2 separate regions of the Homo sapiens genome follow, and region 2 is linked to region 1. Evidence: promoter capture Hi-C in human tissues and cell types (Jung and others, 2019). All regions are on one chromosome and are shown on one strand. The core of a region is centred on a gene start or on the middle of the fragment in contact, and the rest is flanking DNA. Distances in the headings are between cores, read along the strand shown. Region 1 holds the start of ZNF558 (zinc finger protein 558). Region 2 overlaps LOC124904635 (a long non-coding RNA gene).

Evidence for each region. The method cuts DNA at HindIII sites, captures the fragments that hold promoters and counts their contacts. A contact is called where the count stands out against the background at its distance.
Region 2: a contact is called between a fragment that was not itself captured here and the fragment with the promoter of ZNF558 in region 1, in 1 of the 25 tissues and cell types used here (dorsolateral prefrontal cortex).

What each region holds. Positions count from the first base shown.
Region 1 is chr19:8,830,286-8,834,840 of GRCh38, reverse strand. ZNF558 (zinc finger protein 558) reads left to right here and starts at 2,537. Exons shown (of 10, transcript NM_144693.3): 1 at 2,537-2,632; 2 at 3,440-3,523. It overlaps MBD3L1 (methyl-CpG binding domain protein 3 like 1), which reads right to left and starts at 2,464. Exons shown (of 3, transcript NM_001393532.1): 1 at 2,319-2,464. RefSeq lists silencers at 1,728-1,987, 2,488-2,757. The HindIII fragment of the contact is 13,119 bases long and covers 1-4,555 here.
Region 2 is chr19:9,801,483-9,806,037 of GRCh38, reverse strand. LOC124904635 (a long non-coding RNA gene) reads right to left here. Exons shown (of 3, transcript XR_007067134.1): 3 at 3,622-4,116. Among named protein-coding and RNA genes, the nearest start is that of FBXL12, 15 kb to the left of the region's middle. The HindIII fragment of the contact is 4,629 bases long and covers 45-4,555 here.

The DNA of each region.
Region 1 (4,555 bases), core at 1,288-3,787:
TGATGTCATATCTAAGAAACAATTGCCTAACCCAAGATCACAAAGTTTGACACCTATGTTTTCTTCCAAGAAGTTTATAGTTTTAGCTCTTACCTTTAGGTCTATGATCTATTTTGAGCTCACTTTTGTACATGGTGTGAAGTAGAGGTCCAATTTCATTCTCTGTTTTTTGTTTGTTTCTTGGTTGGTTGGTTTTTTTTTTGTTTTTTTTTGGTTTTGGTTTGTTTTTTTTTTTTGATGGAGTCTCGCTCTGTTCTCAGGCTGGAGTGCAGTGGGGTGATCTCGGCTCACTGCAATCTCCACCTCCTGGGTTCAAACGATTCTTCTGCCTCAGTCTCCCGAGTAGCTGGGACTATAGGCGCCCGCCACCACGCCCAGCTAATTTTGGTATTTTTAGTAGAGACGGGGTTTCACCATGTTAGCCAGGATGGTCTCGATATCTTGACCTCGTGATCTGCCTGCCTCAGCCTCCCAAAGTGCTGGGGTTACAGGCGTGAGCCACCACGCCCAGCCCAATTTCATTCTTTTGTATATTGGCATCTAGTTGTCCCAGCACAATTTGTTGAAGAGAACAGTCTTTCCACAGTGAACTTTCCTAGTATATTGAATTTTGAACTTGTTCATTTTTGCTTAAACTTCCTTCAGCCACCTGAAAATGGATATTTTTGGGAAGCAGAGATCTAACTATTTTTTTCTGAAAGGACGGGTGCATGAAACAATATCATTCATTGAAAGTATTTCTTCCTGGCTGATTTTAAATGTTACCACTCTCTTACATAAAATTTTTTCCCTTTGCACTTACCAGTATCTTTTTTTGTTTATGGTTTTTGGTTTTTGTTTTGTTTTGTTTTTTGAGATGGAGTCTTGCTCGTCACCCGGGCTGGAGTGCACCGGCTGCAATCTCGGCTCACTTCAACCTCCACCTCCCGAGTTCAAGCTATTCTCCTGCCTCAGCCTCCCAAGTACCTGGGATTACAAGGCATCCGCCACCACGCCCGGCTAATTTTGTATTTTTAGTAGAGACGGGGTTTCACCATGTTGGCAGGCTGGTCTCGAACTCCTGACCTCAGGTGATCTGCCTGCCTCGGCCTCCCAAAGTGTTGGGATTACAAGCGTAAGCCACCAGGTCCAACCAGCACTTAGTGGTATCTAACGCACCAACCCACCATGTATTCTATTTATCACATTCACTGTCCATTTCTCCTGCCCAACTCACAACTAAAATGCACGTTCTCTGAGGGCAAGGACGTTTACCTATTTTGTTCAGTCTATATCCATGGTGTATAAAACAGAGACTTGTTGGGGGGGAGGTAATAGCATTTATTCCATGAATATGACTACGGCATACACACATACACACACATACATGTCCACACTATATCTGGAAAGATAGAGGAGAAAATTATTTTTGCCTCTGAGCAAAAGAACTGAAAGACCGTGGTGGGAGAATATTTGACTGACTTTGTACCATTCTTAAGTTTTCCTATATGTGTATCTATGACCCAGTCCTCTCCTGCTCCCCTAAACTCTTAGTGTTAAATCACTATGTTCTGCCTTGGGAAAGCAAGTTATAGACAAATGTGCATACATAATCTGATCCTATTGGGTTGTATGAACATGGGGCAGTAACTGTATCAACAATCTAGGGATCCAAGGAAGGCCCTACCCCTGAATCTGATCTCCCACAATCCTGGCTCCTGGGCCTATCCCAACCCACCCACATCATACACCCTTTTATTCATACCCAGATCCCTGCCCCTGGAACTGGTCTCCACCCACTGCCCCCTCCCCAGGCCTGGTGCAGCCCACAGTCCCGCCCCCAGAACTGGTCTCCGCCCACAGTCAGCCCCGCCCCCAGGCTTGCTGCCACCCCATAGCTCCGCCCCTAGAACTGCTCTCTGCCAATCACCACTGCCCTCCAAGACCGGTACACCCACAGCCTAGTCCCCGCCCTCCGCCCGGCCCGGAGCTTATCTCCGCCCACAGCCAGCCCCAACCTCCAGGGCTGTCACAACCACAGCCTGGTTCCCGCTCAGCCCCGCCCCGGAAATGGAGGTCTCCACCCCTGTAACTGGTCTCTGCTCAGTCATCCCCGCTCTAGAAGCCTTATACCATCCGCCCCGAGAACTGGGCCCCACCCACAGCCCCGACCCTGGAACTGGTCTCTGCCCAATCAGCCTCGCCCTCCAGGCCTGGTACGGCCTCAGCCGGTTCCCCGCCTTCAGCCCCGCCCCGGAACTGATCTCCGCCCACAACCAGCCCCGCCCCCAGGCCTCGTGCGGCTCACAGCCTGGCCCCGCCCCCAGGGCCAACCTTACCCCCGCTACTGCCCCAGGCCAGGGCCCAACTTTGTGCCCACTAAGCAAACTAGAACACCTCTGCCCAAGGCTGGGGTTCGCGGCCGCCGCTCCCGCCCGCCGCGCCTGTCGCCTAAGCGCCGAACCCCCAACACGCTCGACTCTGCGAGGCTGCCCGCGCGAGCCGGAAGGGGACGTGCAGCGCACCTCTCCCCAGACCGGAAGCGGAAGCGCGGGGCGGTACCGTGGGAGGGGCCGCGCGTGGGGCAGCGGGGAGCGAGTCCCTCCGTCCCCGCGAGTCGGCGCTTTTGGCCCCGCGGGAGGGGCCGGGCTCGGTGAGCGACTGGCGGGGGCTCGGGTCCGAGTCCAGGGGGCGACGTGGGCCGCGGACACCGCCAGCCACGGGCCCTGCGTCCCTCCAGGGAGCCGTGTTTCGGTTCATGAGGCCTCGGGCTGTGAGCTTAGGTCAGCACGAAGCTGCTGCTTGCTCCTGGGTCGGGGCCCCGCGCCGCTGTTGCCTCCTCAGGGAACCCCAGTCGCCCTCACCCGGGGCGATTCCGCACCCCAGGGGACTTTTGGCTGTAGCTGGAGACGACTGTGGTTTTCACAAATTGTGGGGAGGGGAGGCTGCTACTGTCACCTAGAGGGTGGAGGCCGGGGAAGAGGGACGCTGCTTGCTCTTAAAGATCCTACGTTGTACAGGACAGTCCCCCACAACAAAGAATTATCAGTAGTGCCAGGTTGGGAAACCCTGCTCTAGGGCCTTAAAAAAAAAATCTCTGCAGTTCTGAATAAACTACATAAATTGTTAAAAATTCAGTTTAGTCACTTAATAGGGCCTCTAAGTGACAAGATATTTTTAAAGCCTGTGGAGTCACCATAGAATCTCTCTCCAGCGTAGTAAGTTGAGCAAGTCAAATGCACACAGCGTTAAGCTGCTTTCTCCCCTCTTACGGAGCAGATGGCCAGATGGGAATCAGGTAAAGCCAGTCATGGCCCACAGGCTGGGCCCTTATTACACATTTAATCATTGAGTACCCAAAAAAAGTGAATGGGATGGTGTTTCCGGCAGCCGTATCCAACAACTGTACAACCTATACAAAGCCTCGAAAGAAATCTTTGTGTCTTTTTTTTTTTTTCAGATGAGAAAAGCATCATTCAAGCTCAGATTCGTGTTGAAGCCTGCCACAAGGTCCACCTGTTGTTGTGGGTTTTTGGGTGACCAGGTGAGTACAGTGTGGAACCTACAACAAGGTTTCAGCAGGCTCTGCTGTGTAGAAGAACTCCTCGTGGGCTTTTCCTGTGCTGGGGTTGTAACCACATTGAAGTCACTAAGAGTGAAGGTATCTTAAGGAAAGTTCAAGGTAAAAAGACAGAGGTGTTTATGGTTACATGTGTGTAAATAAGTAAATACAGTTACATGCAAATAAGTATCCACAAAACAAACATACAAATAACGTAAAGATGTGTAACTGTAGCTAAAGACAGATTTTCTGGTATGCCGTAATGCTAAAAGTTTCTGAATTTTATATAAGTATAGAAAATATTTACATGTATATGTAGTGTTACAAGTCTTCCCACTAACAACTAGCAGGACTACTTAGCAACATTTTTCAGGCCTGTTTGATTTGACTTTTTTTTTTTTTCTTGAGACCAAGTCTCACTCTGTTGGCCAGGTTGGAGTGCAGTGGCGCGATCTTGGCTCATGTCAACCTCCACCTCCCAGACTCAAGCAAATCTCCTGCCTCAGTTTCCTGAGTAGCTGGGACTACAGGCAAGTGCCACCACGCCCAGCTAATTTTGTTTGTATTTTTAGTAGAGACAGGTTTTTGCCATGTTGGCCAGGCTGGTCTTTAACTCCTGACCTCAAGTGGTCCGCCCACCTCAGCCTCCCAAAGTGCTGGGATTACAGGCAAGAGCCACCGCACCCAGCTGTTGATTTGATTTCTAAAGGCATATTGGCCCTCCACCAAACTTCAAAATATAAGGGCATTTGTAAAAAGGATGATTTATTAGTAACAAATTTAAAATTAAATTGACCGGCGACCAGATGTGTTTTGAGTAATGGGATTTTTTTTTTCCTAATGAGATTTGAAAACATTTGGAAGAATATTAAGCAACAACTTATAGATTGAAGGGTAGGGAACTGGTTTCCAAAAAGATTGTCCTCTGCACCTTGCCTCCTGTATTAGTCCTTTTTCACACTGCTATAAAGAACTACCTGAGAGTTTTCACACTGCTATAAATAACTCCCTGAG
Region 2 (4,555 bases), core at 1,110-3,609, 970 kb before region 1:
CATCTTGACTTCTGCTTAACCCAAGTCCTGAGAACAACTCCAACATTTCTAGATTTTTTTTTTTTTTTGAGACGGAGTTTTTGTTTTTGTAGCCCAGGTTGGAGTGCAATGGTGCAATCTTAGCTCACTGCAACCTCTGCCCCCAAGGTTCAAGAGATTCCTGCCACAGCCTTCTGAGTAGCTGGGATTACAGGTGCCCACCACCATACCCAGCTAATTTTTTGTATTTAATAGAAATGGGGTATCACCATGTTGGTCAGGCTGGTCTCAAACTCCTGACCTCAGGTGATCCACCCACCTTGGCCTCCCAAAGTGCTGGGATTACAGGCATGAGCCACTGTGCCCCACCTACTTTTTTTTTTTTTTTTTTGAGACAGAGTCTTATTCTGTCCCTCAGGCTGGAGTGCACTGGCCCAATCTCGACTCACTGTAACCTCCCTCACCTGGGTTGAAGCAATCCTCCCACCTCAGCCTCCCAAGTAATTGAGACTACAGGTGCACACTACCATGCCTGGTGGTTTTTTGTTTTTTTTTGTTTTTTGTTTTAAGACATAGGGTTTCGTCATGTTGCCCAGGCTGGTCTTGAACTCTTGGGCTCAAGCCATCCGCCCACCTTGGCCTCCCAAAGTGCCGGGATTACAGGCATGAGCCACTGCACCCAGCCAGGATTTCTACTTTATTTACTGTTCTTGTGTAAGAACATATACTCGCCATAGATCCTGCCCTTGGACCAAAGCAGCCTTGATGTTATTGTATAAATTACAGGCTATGACACATATCACATTCTTACCTGTCTGGAGGGTTAACTTGGCCTACACATTCTTTAGGAAAAAAAGAAAAAATTTTTTTTCGAGACAGGGTCTTGCTTTGTTGCCCAGGCCAGAGCGCATCATGGCTCATCTCAGCCTTGACCTCCAGGGCTGTAGTGTTCCTTACCCTCTCAGCCACACAAGTACCTGGGACTATAGGCACATGCCACCATGCCCAGCTAATTTTTCTTTTTTTGTAGAGATGGGGTCTCACCATATTGCCCAGGCTGGTCTCAAAGTTTTGGGCTCAAGCGATCTGCCTGCCACAGCCTCCCAAAGTGCTGGGATTACAGGTGTGAACTACTCACCATGCCCAGCCCCTACAGCTTCACTGAGGTATAATTAACATGTAATAAATTGCACATATGGCCGAGCGCGGTGGCTCACGCCTGTAATCCCAACACTGGGAGGCAGAGGCAGGCGGATCACCTGAGGTCGGGAGTTCGAGACCAGCCTGACCAACATGGAGAAACCCCGTCTCTACTAAAAATACAAAATTAGCCGGACGTGGTGGCACATGTCTGTAATCCCAGCTACTCGGGAGGCTGAGGCAGGAGAATCGCCTGCACCTGGGAGGCGGAGGTTGCGGTGAGCCGAGTTCACACCATTGCACTCCAGCCTGGGCAACAAGAGCGAAACTCCATCTCAAAAAAAAAAAAAAAAAAAAAGTTTAAATTTACCTATAGCGTGGAAGCTTCCTGCTTTGAGTTGTCCTGCTTTTCTGGACCAAGCCAATGTATTTATTAAATGTGTTTGATTGATGTCTCATGTCTCCCTAAAATATATAAAACCAAGCTGCACCCCAACCACTTTTGTCACATGTTCTCAGGACATCCTGAGGGCTGTGTCGTGGGCCATGGTCACTCATATTTGGCTCAGAATAAATCTCTTCAAATATTTTACAGAGTTTGACTCTTTGTCAACCATTGCCTTTGCAAAAATAATAATCAGGACAGTCGAGGTGGCTCACGCCTGTAATTCCAACATTTTGTGAGGCTGAATGAACTCCAGAATGGGCAGGTCATTTGAGCCTGGGGAGGTCGAGGCTGCAGTGAGCTGTGATTGCACCTCTGCACTCTAGCCTGGGTAACAGAGTGAGACCCTGTCTCAAAAAAATATATATCAGAAAATTATGACAGTGAAAGAGATCTGAGCCAATCCACCCCCCATCTTCCCTTTCCCTTAATATTTCCTGGGCTATTGGGCTGAGGTAACTTTAAGAAACATTTAGGCTATAGTTTAGGTGATAATAAGCTTTGCCTAAAACTCAATCGCTTTGGTAAAACTAATGGGGAGCCATCAGCAGGAGAGGAGCCTGATTCCTGCAAAGGCGCAGAAATGTATGTCAGCCACTATTCCAGAGGTTATGAGATATGCAACTTCCCCAATTACTCCTGCAAATAACACCACTATTGCAGAACCCCAGATTGGCCTTTGGAGATACCCTTTCAGGTTTTATTGCATGTCTGACACCTAACACTCCTCATGGACCCGTCAACCCTGCTCCTATGGCCCCACCCAAAATCGATTCAGCCTGTAGGAGGAAGGCTTCGACCCCCCTATGATTGCATCTGCCCCAACCAATCAGCAGCAAGCACCTGTTACTCTGCCATCCCCACCCGTTCCCCCAAACTGTCTTTGGAAAACCCCTAACCTAGGAGCTTTGAGATGATTTGAGTAGGAACTTCGACTCCCACGTGGCATGGCCAGCCTCATGTCCACTAAACTCTTCCTTTACTACAATGCCATTGTCTTTCTTTATGCAGTGGGCAGGAAGAACCCTCCGGCAATTACAGCTTGAGCCCAGGAATTCGATGCCAGCCTAAGCAATGTCGACGAAAAGCGTCAAACTCTGTAAAATATTTTAAGAGATTCATTCTGAGCCAAATATGAGTGACCATGGCCGGTGATACAGCCCTCAGGAGGCCAGGAGAACATGTGCCCAAGGTGACTGGGGTGCAGTTGGTTTTGTACATTTTAGGGAGACATGAGACTTCAATCAAATACATTTAAGAAATATATTGGCCGGGCGCGGTGGCTCACGCCTGTAATCCCAGCCCTTTGGTAGGCCGAGGTGGGCGGATCACATGAGGTCAGAGTTCGAGACCAGCCTAACCAAGATGGTGAAACCCCGTCTCTACTAAAAATACAAAATTAGCCGGGTGTGGTGGCACGCGCCAGTTATCCCAGCTACTCAGGAGGCTGAGGCAGGAGAATCGCTTGAACCAGGGAGGCGGAGGTTGCAGTGAGCGGAGATGGCACCACTGCACTCCAGCCTGGGTGACAGAGCGAGACACCGTCTCAAAAAAAAAAAAAAAAAAAAAGGAAAAGAAATACATTCATTTGTTCCAGAATGGCAGGACAGCTCAAACCGGGAGCTGGGGTGGGGTGGGAGTGGGGATTCCAGCTTATAGGGAGATTAAAACTTTTTTTCTTTTTTTGAGAGGAGGCTTGAGGTTGTGGAGACCCAAGTTCTTTTTTTTTTTTTTCTTTTTTCTTTTTTGAGATGGAGTCTCGCTCTTGTTGCCCAGCCTGGAGTGCAATGGCACCATCTCGGCTCACTGCAACCTCCACCTCCCGGGTTCAAGCGATTCTCCTGGCTCAGCCACCAGAATAGCTGGGATTACAGGCGCCCGCCACCATGCCCGGCTAATTTTTTTTTTTTTTTTTTTCGGAGACGCAGTCTCGCTCTGTCGCCCAGGCTGGAGTGCAGTGGCACGACCTCAGCTCACTGTAACCTGCGCCTACCGGGTTCCAGCAATTCTCCTGCCGCAGCCTCCTGAGTAGCTAGGATTACAGGTGTGTGCCACCACGACCGGCTAATTTTTGTATTTCTAGTAGAGACGGGGTTTCGTCATGTTGGCCAGGCGGGAGACCCAAGTTCTTATTTCCAGAGGAAGCCTCCAGGTACTAGACTTCAGAGAGAATAGGTTGTAAAATGTTTATCCGACAGACCTGGGGGCGTGGCTTCCAATGAAGACCAGCCCCAGAAGGCCGGGCTGGGAGACTGCGAAGTCGGAGGGGTTGAGGGGACTTCAGGCAGAGTGGGTGGAGCAAAGGAGAGGGCTCAGGCTTGGGGGCGGGACTTGGGTGGGTCCTCCATTCTGGTTGGCCAAGCCTCTATGTCCCAAATAAAAGTCTCTACCTTCCCGAGAACTTATTACAATAGAACACCAGATTTCCAGAGGTATCTGCCAGTCCACAGAGTGAATCACGTTTCCATTCATCCCGTTTCTTCTATAGGCCCTTGAAGAGAGTTTTAACATTTTCTTCTTAAATCGGTTGTATCTTTCGGTGAGGTTAACTCCTAGAGATTACATATAAATACATTTAGGTTTTTTGCTCTTTTTTCCAACCGATGGTTATTGAGGAGTTCTGAGAGATGAGAAATGTGCTGATTTAAATCACAAATGTAGGCCAGACGCAGTCGCTCACACCTGTAATCCTGGCACTTTGGGAGGTTGAGGCAGGGTCCTTTGAGCCCAGGAGTTCTAGACCAGCCTGGGCAACATGGGGAGACCCTGTCTCTATGAAACATTAAAATTAAAATTAAAAAAAGAAAAATAAATAGCCCGGGCGCGATGGCTCAAGCCTGTAATCCCAGCACTTTGGGAGGCCGAGGCGGGTGGATCACCTGAGGTCAGGAGCTCGAGACCAGCCTGAACAATATTGTGAAACCCGCTTATACTAAAAATACAAAAAATTAGTTGGGCGTGGTGGCGGGCGCCTGTAATCCCAACTACTTG